Regions from separate parts of the Homo sapiens genome. Here region 1 is linked to region 2. The links are contacts of gene promoters, found by promoter capture Hi-C in human tissues and cell types (Jung and others, 2019). All regions are on one chromosome and are shown on one strand. Each heading gives the region's core, a stretch centred on a gene start or on the middle of the fragment in contact. The rest is flanking DNA. Distances are from core to core; before and after follow the strand shown.

The links. Contacts are between HindIII fragments. The study calls those that stand out against the background at their distance.
Region 1: a fragment that was not itself captured here is called in contact with the fragment with the promoter of AGBL4 in region 2 in 1 of the 25 tissues and cell types used here (H1 embryonic stem cells).

Annotation. Positions count from the first base shown.
Region 1 is chr1:50,596,135-50,601,120 of GRCh38, reverse strand. FAF1 (Fas associated factor 1) reads left to right here. Exons shown (of 19, transcript NM_007051.3): 9 at 4,905-4,986. Among named protein-coding and RNA genes, the nearest start is that of FAF1-AS1, 160 kb to the right of the region's middle. The HindIII fragment of the contact is 4,142 bases long and covers 1-3,465 here.
Region 2 is chr1:50,021,300-50,026,497 of GRCh38, reverse strand. AGBL4 (AGBL carboxypeptidase 4) reads left to right here and starts at 2,544. Exons shown (of 14, transcript NM_032785.4): 1 at 2,544-2,735. The coding sequence starts at 2,702. LOC105378708 (a long non-coding RNA gene) reads right to left here and starts at 2,477. Exons shown (of 3, transcript XR_947311.3): 1 at 2,376-2,477. The HindIII fragment of the contact is 7,609 bases long and covers 1-5,198 here.

The DNA.
Region 1 (4,986 bases), core at 145-2,644, 580 kb before region 2:
GAGCTTTTTTGTCTTCTCAGTTGTTTCAAGTAATAGTTGTCATTATTCATGAAAATTAGTTGCATATGTACACATTACATAGTTCAGCAGTTCACAGCTTTTTGGTCTCAGGATCCTTTTGCACTTGTAAAGAAATCATCAAAGACCCCAGAGAGCTTTTGTTTATGTGGATTATATTCATTGACATTTACCATTCTAAAAATTAATATTGAAGAAAATAATATTTAAGATAACAAGTGAATTACATGTTAATATAAATAGCATTTTTATACAAAGTAATTATATTTTCTAAAAATTCAGTAAGTAAAGTGACACTGTTTTTATACTTTTACAAATCTCTTTAATGTCTGTCTTAATAGAAGACAACTGGATTTTCGTGTCTTCCTTCTTCTGCATTTAACCTGTTGTAATGAATTTTTTTGATTGAAAATATGAAGAAAATCTGACCTCCTACAGATCTATAGTTGGAAAAGGGAGGAGTATTTTAATAGTCTTTTCAAATAATTATAGATATTATTCTTTGATACTAAACTAGAACTTGAGAAGTGGTAGTTTCCTAAAGGTTAGTCTTATTTTTTTTATTTTAATTTTTTTGTGTGTGTATATGTGGCAAGGAGCTTTCTCGGGTAAAGCTAAATGTTACTTTCAATGTAGAATCTGAAGCCCTACCACTATACATTTTGTATTAATACTTTGTCACAGTAAGATACATTGGTCTGCCTCACAGTTTGAATTAAACCTTTATCCATACATAATTTTATAACATCATGCAATCACTGTTCATTTGGAGAATATTGGTCTTGTGAGTTATGCAGATTTTCTAAATGTTGACACATTTCATTACATGATATAAAAAGTCACATCTATTATATTAATATAACCACTGAACGCATCACAAAGGCTTTAAGCATTGAGAAGCTGTCAAGCTCATGATGGCTGATAGTTTTTAAAACTCTTAATTTTTACATGAAAACTCAAATTTTGTCATTGGCAATTAATACTGTCAGACCTGTTCCTTGAAGTAGTAGTCTCACTTCATTCATTTTGGAGAAAATGTTCAGCAATTAGGGATACTCAATCACAGGTTGAGTATCCGTAATCTGAAAATCTGAAACTTTTTAAGCAGCAACATGATGTTAAAAGGAAATGCTCATTGGAGCATTTCAGATTTTGGATTTTTAGATTTGAGATGCTCAACTGTTAGGTATATATGATGCCAATATTCCAAAACCCAAAACAGTTCTAAGTCTGAAACACCTCTGGTCCCAAGCATTTTAAATAAGGGATACTTGTCTAAATACCAAATCCAAATAACCACAGTTTGTCTGCCCATCATTTGTTTAAGTAGTAATGGTGTTTCTGAAAAAAAGTGGCTGATTCAGCATATAACTGAAACACACATGCTTTTTCTTCAACCCATCCATTATACTTTGGTATGCTGTAGAAGTCCTTTATACATACTTCCCATTTGTCACATAGAATATTAAAAGACATGTATTAAGAGTCAAAATTTACTTAATAAATAAATTAAATTACTTAATAATTTTTACTGATTTAACAGGGACATTATTAAATGAAACTGCCATTTTTACAGTGAGTAAATGGAACTGGAGATTTTTAACAGCTTGGTGTTACTACCTTAATTTGTGCTGAAGTACCAGCAGATTTGCCTACCATTGCTTTTTTTAACATCAGTATAAAAACACTGTGGCCAGGTGTGGTGGCTTAGGCCTGTAATCCCAGCACTTTGGGAGGCTGAGGTGGGCAGATCACCTGAGGTCAGGAGTTCAAGACCAGCCTGGCCAACGTGTTAAAACCCCGTCTCTACAAAGATACAAAAATTAGCCAGGCATGGTGGCACACACCTGTAATCCCAGCTGCTTCGGAGGCTGAAGCAGGAGAATCACTCGAACCTGGGAGGTGGAGGTTGCAGTGAGCTGAGATCGTACCACTGCACTCCAGCCTGGGTGACAGAGCGAGGTTCCCTCTCAAGAAAATAAATAAATAAATACAACACAGTGAAAAAGTCTAATGCCATTTAAGTATTATTATGAAATAATTTTGACCTTATGGAACTACTGAAAGAATCTCAAGAACCCTGTGCCTGTAGTACATACTTTGAGAATCACATAGTATGTTCTTTTTTTTTTGAGACGGAGTTTCACTCTTGTTGTCCAGGTTGGAGTGCAATGGCACAATCTCAGCTTACTGCAACCTCCACTTCCCAGGTTCAAGCAATTCTCCTGCCTCAGCCTCCCAAGTAGCTGGGATTACAAGCATGAACCACCATGCCCGGCTAATTTTTTGTATTTAGTAGAAATGGGATTTCACCATGTTGGTCAGGCTGGTCTCGAATTCTTGACCTCAGGTGATCCACTCGCCTCAGCCTCCCAAAGTGCTGAGATTACAGGCGTGAGCCACCGCGCCCAGCACATGAGCCATTGCGCCCAGCACAGTATGTTCTTAACACTAAATACTGTTTGTAAGAAGAAAAGAAAAAACTTCAAATGGACTTTGAGTATTCACTCACTGATAGAATATCTACTATGTAGCAAGTGTATTCTCATTTAAGCCATCCTCACAGAAAGCCTGTTAGGAAAGGTCATGTTAATTTTACAGAACAGAAAACTTAGCCTTTTTTTTTTTTTTTTTTTTTTTAAAGACAGGTTCTTGCTTTATCACCCAGGCTAGAATGCAGTGGCATGATCTCAGTTCTCTGCAGCCTTGACCTCCTGGGCTCAAGCAATCCTCCCATCTCAGCCTCCCTAGTAGCTGGACTATGGGTGTGTTCCACCATGCCCAGCTAATTGGTTTTTCTTTTTTTGGAGACAGGGTCTCACTCTGTCACCCAAGCTGGAGTACAGTGGCATGATCACAGCTCACTGCAGCCTTAACCACCTGGGCTCAAGTGATCCTCCTGCCTCAGCAACCCAAGTAGCAAGGACTACAGGCGTGCACCCCCATACCCAGCTAATCTTTTGTTTATGTTTTTAGAGACAAGATCTCACTATGTTGCCCAAGCTGGTCTTGAACTCCTGAGCTCAGGCTATCCTCCTGACTCAGCCTTGCAAAGTGCTGGAATTACAGGCATGAGCCACCACGCCCAGCCAGGAAACTTAGTTTCGAGATGGAAAATATTGATTCGAGTGAATAGTAGAAGTGAATTTGAACTCAGGACACTCTGAGTTTAAAAGTCCATTCTACACTTAGCCGTCTCCTGTTACTAAATAGAAAAAGTTCCTTTAGGGATCAACAAGAATTTGTTAAGTGCCTGCCTTTTCCATGGATTACTTTTTAACAGAACAAATTTACTTAATTTTGTTCATTTTTCTTCATGTCTTGTCAAAAAATGATTTACCATCCTTATATTTCAATCATTGACAGCTGACAAGAACAATTAAATTCTTGCCAACTATAGCTATTTTTTCCTTAAGATGTGGCCTTAAAAATATAAATACTGTAAAATAATAATTATTTTTGTGAAAAAGGGTTTTCTTTGGATAATTTAAATGCATAAACTTTTTGTGTTGATGTAGTATAATTGTCAAATTATTTAATTGGACACATATACTTAAAATAATGTTAATATTATATAATGTTAATTTACAAATACTGCTTTTGTAGCTACCCTCATATTTCATGATATTTATTCAAATTCTATGGGCATTTTTTTATATATAAGCATCATCATCACCACTAGGGTCACTTTTTTTTTTCTTTTTGGTTGACATTGTAAAGACTAAATAATTGAATTGAATAAGATAACTACTCTTGTGTTAATTAAGGAACAGGCTAACTTAGAAAGACCCCAGAATATAAGGTGACAGTGGGCTTCTCTCATGGAACAGTCTAGGTGAGGAAGGTGTTTCTGCTAAAGTCATGTTTTCTAGAGTCCATCCTTTTCGCTGGACATTTTATCTCAAGCCACAGATATTCTTCACAGACTAGTAAAAAGTAATGTTTGTTGAGCCACCAACTGTGTGCTAGGCATTTTCTCATTGCTTTACCCATAAACTCAACCTTATTATCCCTACGCTGTGGAGAAAGTAATAATCAAATACTATCCCTATCTAGGTGTCATTAAGGACAGTTGTAATTTTTTCATTTGCTTATTTTTTGTTTTGTTTTGGTTTCATTTGTCCTATGTATGTATATTCATCATCTTCCCAAGACATTTTTCAAAGTATCTTTTAAAGACAGGTTTATAAGGACTTTTAATACTTGCAATTGTGAGATTATACAGAGCTCTAGGAATAATCATGTCTTATCATTGTCTTCTTTATTAACCAGTTTTGACAAGTAAACTCTGGGAGAACCTGAAGCATCATTGACTCAGGTTATTTAAGGCTAATCTGTCGAAACAGTGTATTGAAAATGAAGTATTTGAGGAAGCACCCTGTAATAGGAGAACTTTTGTAACTACTCAAATATAAGGCAGCTTCCTTTATGATAAAACCTAAACTTAGATTTTTGTATATTTCTGATATATGTATCTTATGGAAATTTTAAATTTTGTATCTCACCTACAATTTTATATTTCTATCCCTACTGCCTTCGGAGTTAGGAAAATGAGGTATTATTCTGCTAATCAGAAAAGTAGCAGACGCACATTGAGGCAGTGGGGGATTGGGGGCAAGTATGTATGATTTGCCTTATTTTGGGCTCATACCAGTTTCCTAGAACCTCAGTCTATCATCTAATGAAAATTAGCCTTAGCTACCATAACATCCCATGTGTGGAAAAATTTCAAATTTTCAAAGCCTTCCTGGTAATGTAATACCCAGGATACTAGAGTTAGCTTTCTAATCTAGCTTCAGCAATAATAGAAAATACCTGAAAAGTCAAATCCTTTTGTGAAACATGGCCGTATTTTGTTTACAAATGATGGATTCTACTTTTTGCAGATGTGTCTTGCTGAATCAGGGCTCTCTTATCCCTGCCATCGACTTACAGTGGGAAGAAGATCTTCACCTGCACAGACCCGGG
Region 2 (5,198 bases), core at 1,295-3,794:
TGAATTTGTGCATGTTAATCCTTTCTTTCCAATTAGTTTGTAAACTTCAAAGGCATGGTATTTTTGATGTGAAAATTACATGAGATAACACAGATGAATTTCCTAGCATAATTTCAGTCTTCCCTGAGTCTGCTACTTTCTGCCTGAAACTTTGTATAAGTCACTTAAACTCTGTGAGCCTCAATTTCATCTTCTGTACAAGAGGCTGATATTAATACAAATATCATAATGCTGCTCTGAGAATGAAATGAGTTTGTGCTCGTAAAAATATGATTATAAATTAAATATTTCTCTCATTCCATTCTGCATCTAACTTAGTGGCCAGGCACATGGAAGGTATCATTTTAATGAATGTTTATGGAGGGAGTGGGTGAATCCTACAGGGTATATTTTGCTTGAAAGAAGGCACCCTTGTTGTGGGTGGGTGTTTTCTGTGGAGACAGAAATCATAGGAGGTCTCTGGGGAAGACAGACCTCCCAGGGACATATGAATGGTAGCACGGGGAAACTAATTCCCAGGAGCCCATGTAGGGGACGTTTTCCCCCCACTTCCCATGCTGTGTTATTTTTCACACAACAAAAGGGAAGTCTCTGAAGACTCCAGCAGTAGTGAAGAAGTCTATACTCCCTCCTGCACTGCTTCCTGAGGAATAGCTGACACAGAGGAGAACCGAACCTGGTCCTGTCAGCAAGCTGGTTTTCCAGGCTTTTCGTCTCCTCTGCCCAGTAAGGCATTTGTCTATCAATTCTGACTAACAAAACTTTCTGCAGTGATGGAAATGTTCTATACATATGTTGTCCAATATGGTAGCCAGTAGCCACATGTAGCTATTGAGCACTTGAAAAGTGGCAATTCTGATTAAATAACTGAGTTCTAAATTTTACTTAAAATTTAAATTGACCAATGTGGTTCAATTTAATAATGTTATATTTGTCTCTTTATCCTCAGCATCTGCACAGAGCCTGGCTCATACTCATCAAATGCATTTTCATTCATCACCCTATTTGTGTCTTAGAGCTACTCTTTGTGGTAGGCAGGACCTTTGTCTCAGTTTGTTGGAAGAGGAAACTGAGGCTCAGTAAGTTTAAGTGATTTGCCCAAGATTATAAAGCTATAACATCAGTCTGAGTAGAACCCACATCTTTCTCTTTATTTTTCCATCTCCCTATACTTAATGTAGTTCTTTTGTTCTTCTTAGCCCTTATTGACTCCTCCGACACCGAAATTCCCAAAACCCTCACAGCCTTTACATAAGTGTCATTAGGACTGTGGAAAGCACATATATATTCATCTTGATAGTTGTGTGGACATGGCTTGTGAATTTTAAACTGTTCAAATGTGAGAGATAATTCTGATAGCTATTTTCATGTAACTTTCTGTACAAGATTCTTATCCCTGATTTTAATGCAGATGAATGGACAGTTCCATGCATGTGGCCAGCATCTTACTTAGAAGGCCTTCCGGTCCGTCTCTGCATTTCTGCCTCAAGGCTTTCTCTCAAACTCTAGAAGTCTGCTCAGCCCTGGCAAGCATAACCAGGAAATGTGAGAGAGTTCAAGCTGGAAGGTGGAGAGCAACCCTCAACCAATGGAGACAGAAATTAGGAGACAAATGCCCCAGACTCTGTGTTCTTCAGTGGGACAACGGCAGGCACACATTCTACCCTGTTTTTCAGAGTCTGAAGCAAGATTAAAAATAGTTGTCTACTAAAGCAATCAGCTCAATAACACATTTTTCTTAGCGTTTTTCCCCCTTCCCTCTTTCACTCTCTCCACCTCATTTCCTTTCAGATTACCACCATTTTCCATTCAGCAGACATTGACTGAGATCCTACTTTGTGTCATGCACCACGCTGCACTATGGAGTATACAAAGATAAGAGAACAACCGTAGGTATCAGAGAGCTCATGGTCGAGAAGGAAATAATGCATAAAGCATTTGGAATAGAGGGAATATACAGGGGACTGCGGGAGGGCAGAGCTGGTCAGGACGGGTAATGTTCCAGCTTGGTTTTAGACGATAACGGCGTGTCACTACTGAAAGGTGGGAAACAGCAGCCCATATTTACTGAAAAATACGTCAGCAAAAGGATAAGTCTTTTCTGGGGTTGAGGGTTGCTGTCGCAGAGGGGCAAGGAGCCAGAACCCTTTGGGCCTCTGTGTGTTTGGGTTGGGGTGGGCACACAGTTGGTTTTCAGTGCATTTCAGTTGAAGACGAGTAACCCAGGCAAACCAAGGGGAGAAGCTTTGGGAAATCAAGAAACCTGTCCCAAGTCCCCAAAGTTGAGCACCAACCACAGAAAAGCCAGTTTAGCTAGTCTGGGCGGTCAGTACGAGGACCCCGGTCGCCGTCAGGAAAGCGCCATCCCTACAGACCTGGCCCCTGTGCTCTAGGGGTGGCGGAGCCTGCTCAGTTGCCAGGATGCGGTGGATCGGTTGCGGAGGAGCAGCGCCCCGGGGCCCAAGTCCCAGCTCAGGCCCGGGCTCGCGCCGCGGGGGCGGGGCCTTGGACGCACGCTCCTCCCAGGCGTCCCTCCCGCCCTCAGCCGCGCGCCGGCCACCCGCGCGCCTGCCGCCCGTTGCCCAGGCAACCGTCGTGCCGCGTCTTCCTGAGGTAGCTCCTGTCAGCCCACTGATCCCACCACCCGCTCCCTACTGCCCCGCGGTCTTCGCGTGAGCTCGGAGACTGAGGGACAACAAAAATGGCGGAGGGGAGCCAGTCGGCGCCTGAGGCAGGTCTGTGGGGGCGGCCGATCTGGGGAAGGCTGAGGCGGCCAGGCTGTCCTGGGTCTCAGGCAACAGGGGACTCGGGCATGGTCCTACTCCTGAGGAGGCGGTCCTGTATATTTGCGCGGTGGGTTATGACTTCAGGGTCAGGGGTCAAGGGTGGCGTGCACCCCTCTGAATGGCGGGCAGGGACCTCGAAGTCCGGGTGGTGGAGGGGAGTGTGGGTTAGTGTGCACACTTCTGACAGAACATGGGCCCGAAAGGGGCTGGGACCTGAGGGAAGAGACAGGATCTTAATCCTGGGATCACCTGTGGTGAAGGCTAATCCTAGGGCTAGGCTGTGTCATGGAAAGGGTGTACACTGCCCTGTGGGAGCATGGGAGAGATCCCTAAAGGGGCATGATTTGGGCTCGGGGTGGGAGTAGGAGGCTCTGACTCTAAAGAGGGAGGTATACGTGGAAGGTGTGTTACTTTAATATCAGACAGTGCCATGGAAGGGGGAGTTAGAGTATTTGTGTTTGGGGATGTGCAGTGTCCTCAGGGTCACTCCTGGTCACAGAGAAATTTATGCAAATAATTCTTGTATGGGTCCTTAAAAAGACAAGAGGCCTTGAGGGGATACCCGGAGCCCCAGTCCTTTAGGAGCCTACCAAAGGAGGCTGGAGCGTGAGTGTGAGTGTGTGTGGGTTCAATGATCTTGAAGGTCATTCAGAATCAAAGGAGTGCATGTCCACACTTCTGTGGGTAGAAGATAGCCTTTAAGGGACAGGAAGACTGACAGGAAGGGAGACCCAGGATCCTATTCCTGAGGGGACCCCTTGTGCATATGGCTGGGATTTGTGAGATACTGACTTTAAGTTTCTCACAGGGTCATAGAAGAAAGCAAAGGTTTTTACAGTTTTGAGTATGTGGGAGGGAGTTTGCCTCTAAATGAGGCTGACCACTGAAGAACTGGATGTTACGGGATGGCATGGGTGTGTGGGTAGAAAAGAAGTGGCTTTGGGAATATGTGTGTGATGGGTGTTGGCAGTGGTATACATAACCTTGTATATATGTCCTGATCAGGTATTATCATTACAAGAGTGATCCACTTGAATTACTTTGGTCCTGGTGTGTGTGTGTGTGTGTGTGTGTGTGTGTGTGTGTGTGTGTGTGTGGTTATGGTACATACACACCACACCCCAGAAACTGGAACTGAAAACTATGACACCCTCAGAAATAAGTTCGAGGAACCATTATGTCTCAAGGCCTTCATTATTTCTCTTTCTTTCATGGCACCTCTGTTTTATTGAGTAGCTCCTCTACTCATTTTATAGTTTTAGCTCCCTCATAACTTGAACAGGCTTATTCCTTTATTCATTCATCCACTCAACAAATATCGAGTGCTAACTATATGCCTGGCAATAAGTTAGGCATTGGAAATTCCCTGCTTTGGATGAGCTTACCTTGTTCTTCTTTTCCTTTTTTTCTCATAGCATTTATTGCCTTTGAACATACTATTTAATTTACTTGCTTGTATTGCTTATTTCCTGTCTCCTTCCACTACAATGTAAGCTCTACAAGGGCATTGTTTTATCAATACCACATGTCTAGAACTTTTCTAAGTGTATAGTATGTTCTCAATAAAGATTTCTTAAATGAATAACTGAATTACTGATATTGTCTGGAAGTGATATTTTAGCTGACATATGATAGGGATTGGATAATTGAAAAAAAGGGCAAAGAGTGGTCGAGGCAGCAGGAAAACCATGTGCAAAGAACCCAAGCAGGTGGAAACATGTTATGCTGTGTTTGAGGAACTGAAAGGAGACAAGTGTGGGTACATGTGGGGCAATGGGAAGAGAGAAGAGGTACGCTGAAGCCAGATCTTCCAGTACTTTGTAGAATATGATATGAATTTGGGTCAGAAATCCTAAGAATAATGGGAAGCCATTGAAGGCTTTTAAGTGGGAGCATGCCATGATTAGAATAATTAAAAAATAACTCTGGCTACAATGTGGAGAGTACAGAGGATACAAGAGTGGATATAGGATATACTCTCCACCAGCTACATTGAGGAGAGTACAGAGGATACAAGAATGCATATAGAGAGACCTTAGAAGGTAGCAGTGGAGATGAAGAGAAGGAATTGAGAAATACTTAGGAGATAAAATTAATAGGACTTAGTGAAATATGAGGATGATGGAGAAGGAAGTATCGAAGACTACTTCTCATTTTCTAATTTGTTCAACTGGATAGTTAGTGGTGCCATTATTGGGATAGGGAGCATTGGAAGGGGCCTTGGGTAGGTGTGAGAGGAAAGATCATTAATTTGGTTTTAGATAAGTGGAGATTGAGGTATCTTTAGGACATCCAGATAAGCAGAGAGATTGACAAGGCAGTTGAATTTACAAGAAAAGTGTAAACTGGCATAGAGATAATTATTTTGACATAGAAATAATTACTCAAGCCATGGGTGTGGATGAAATTGCC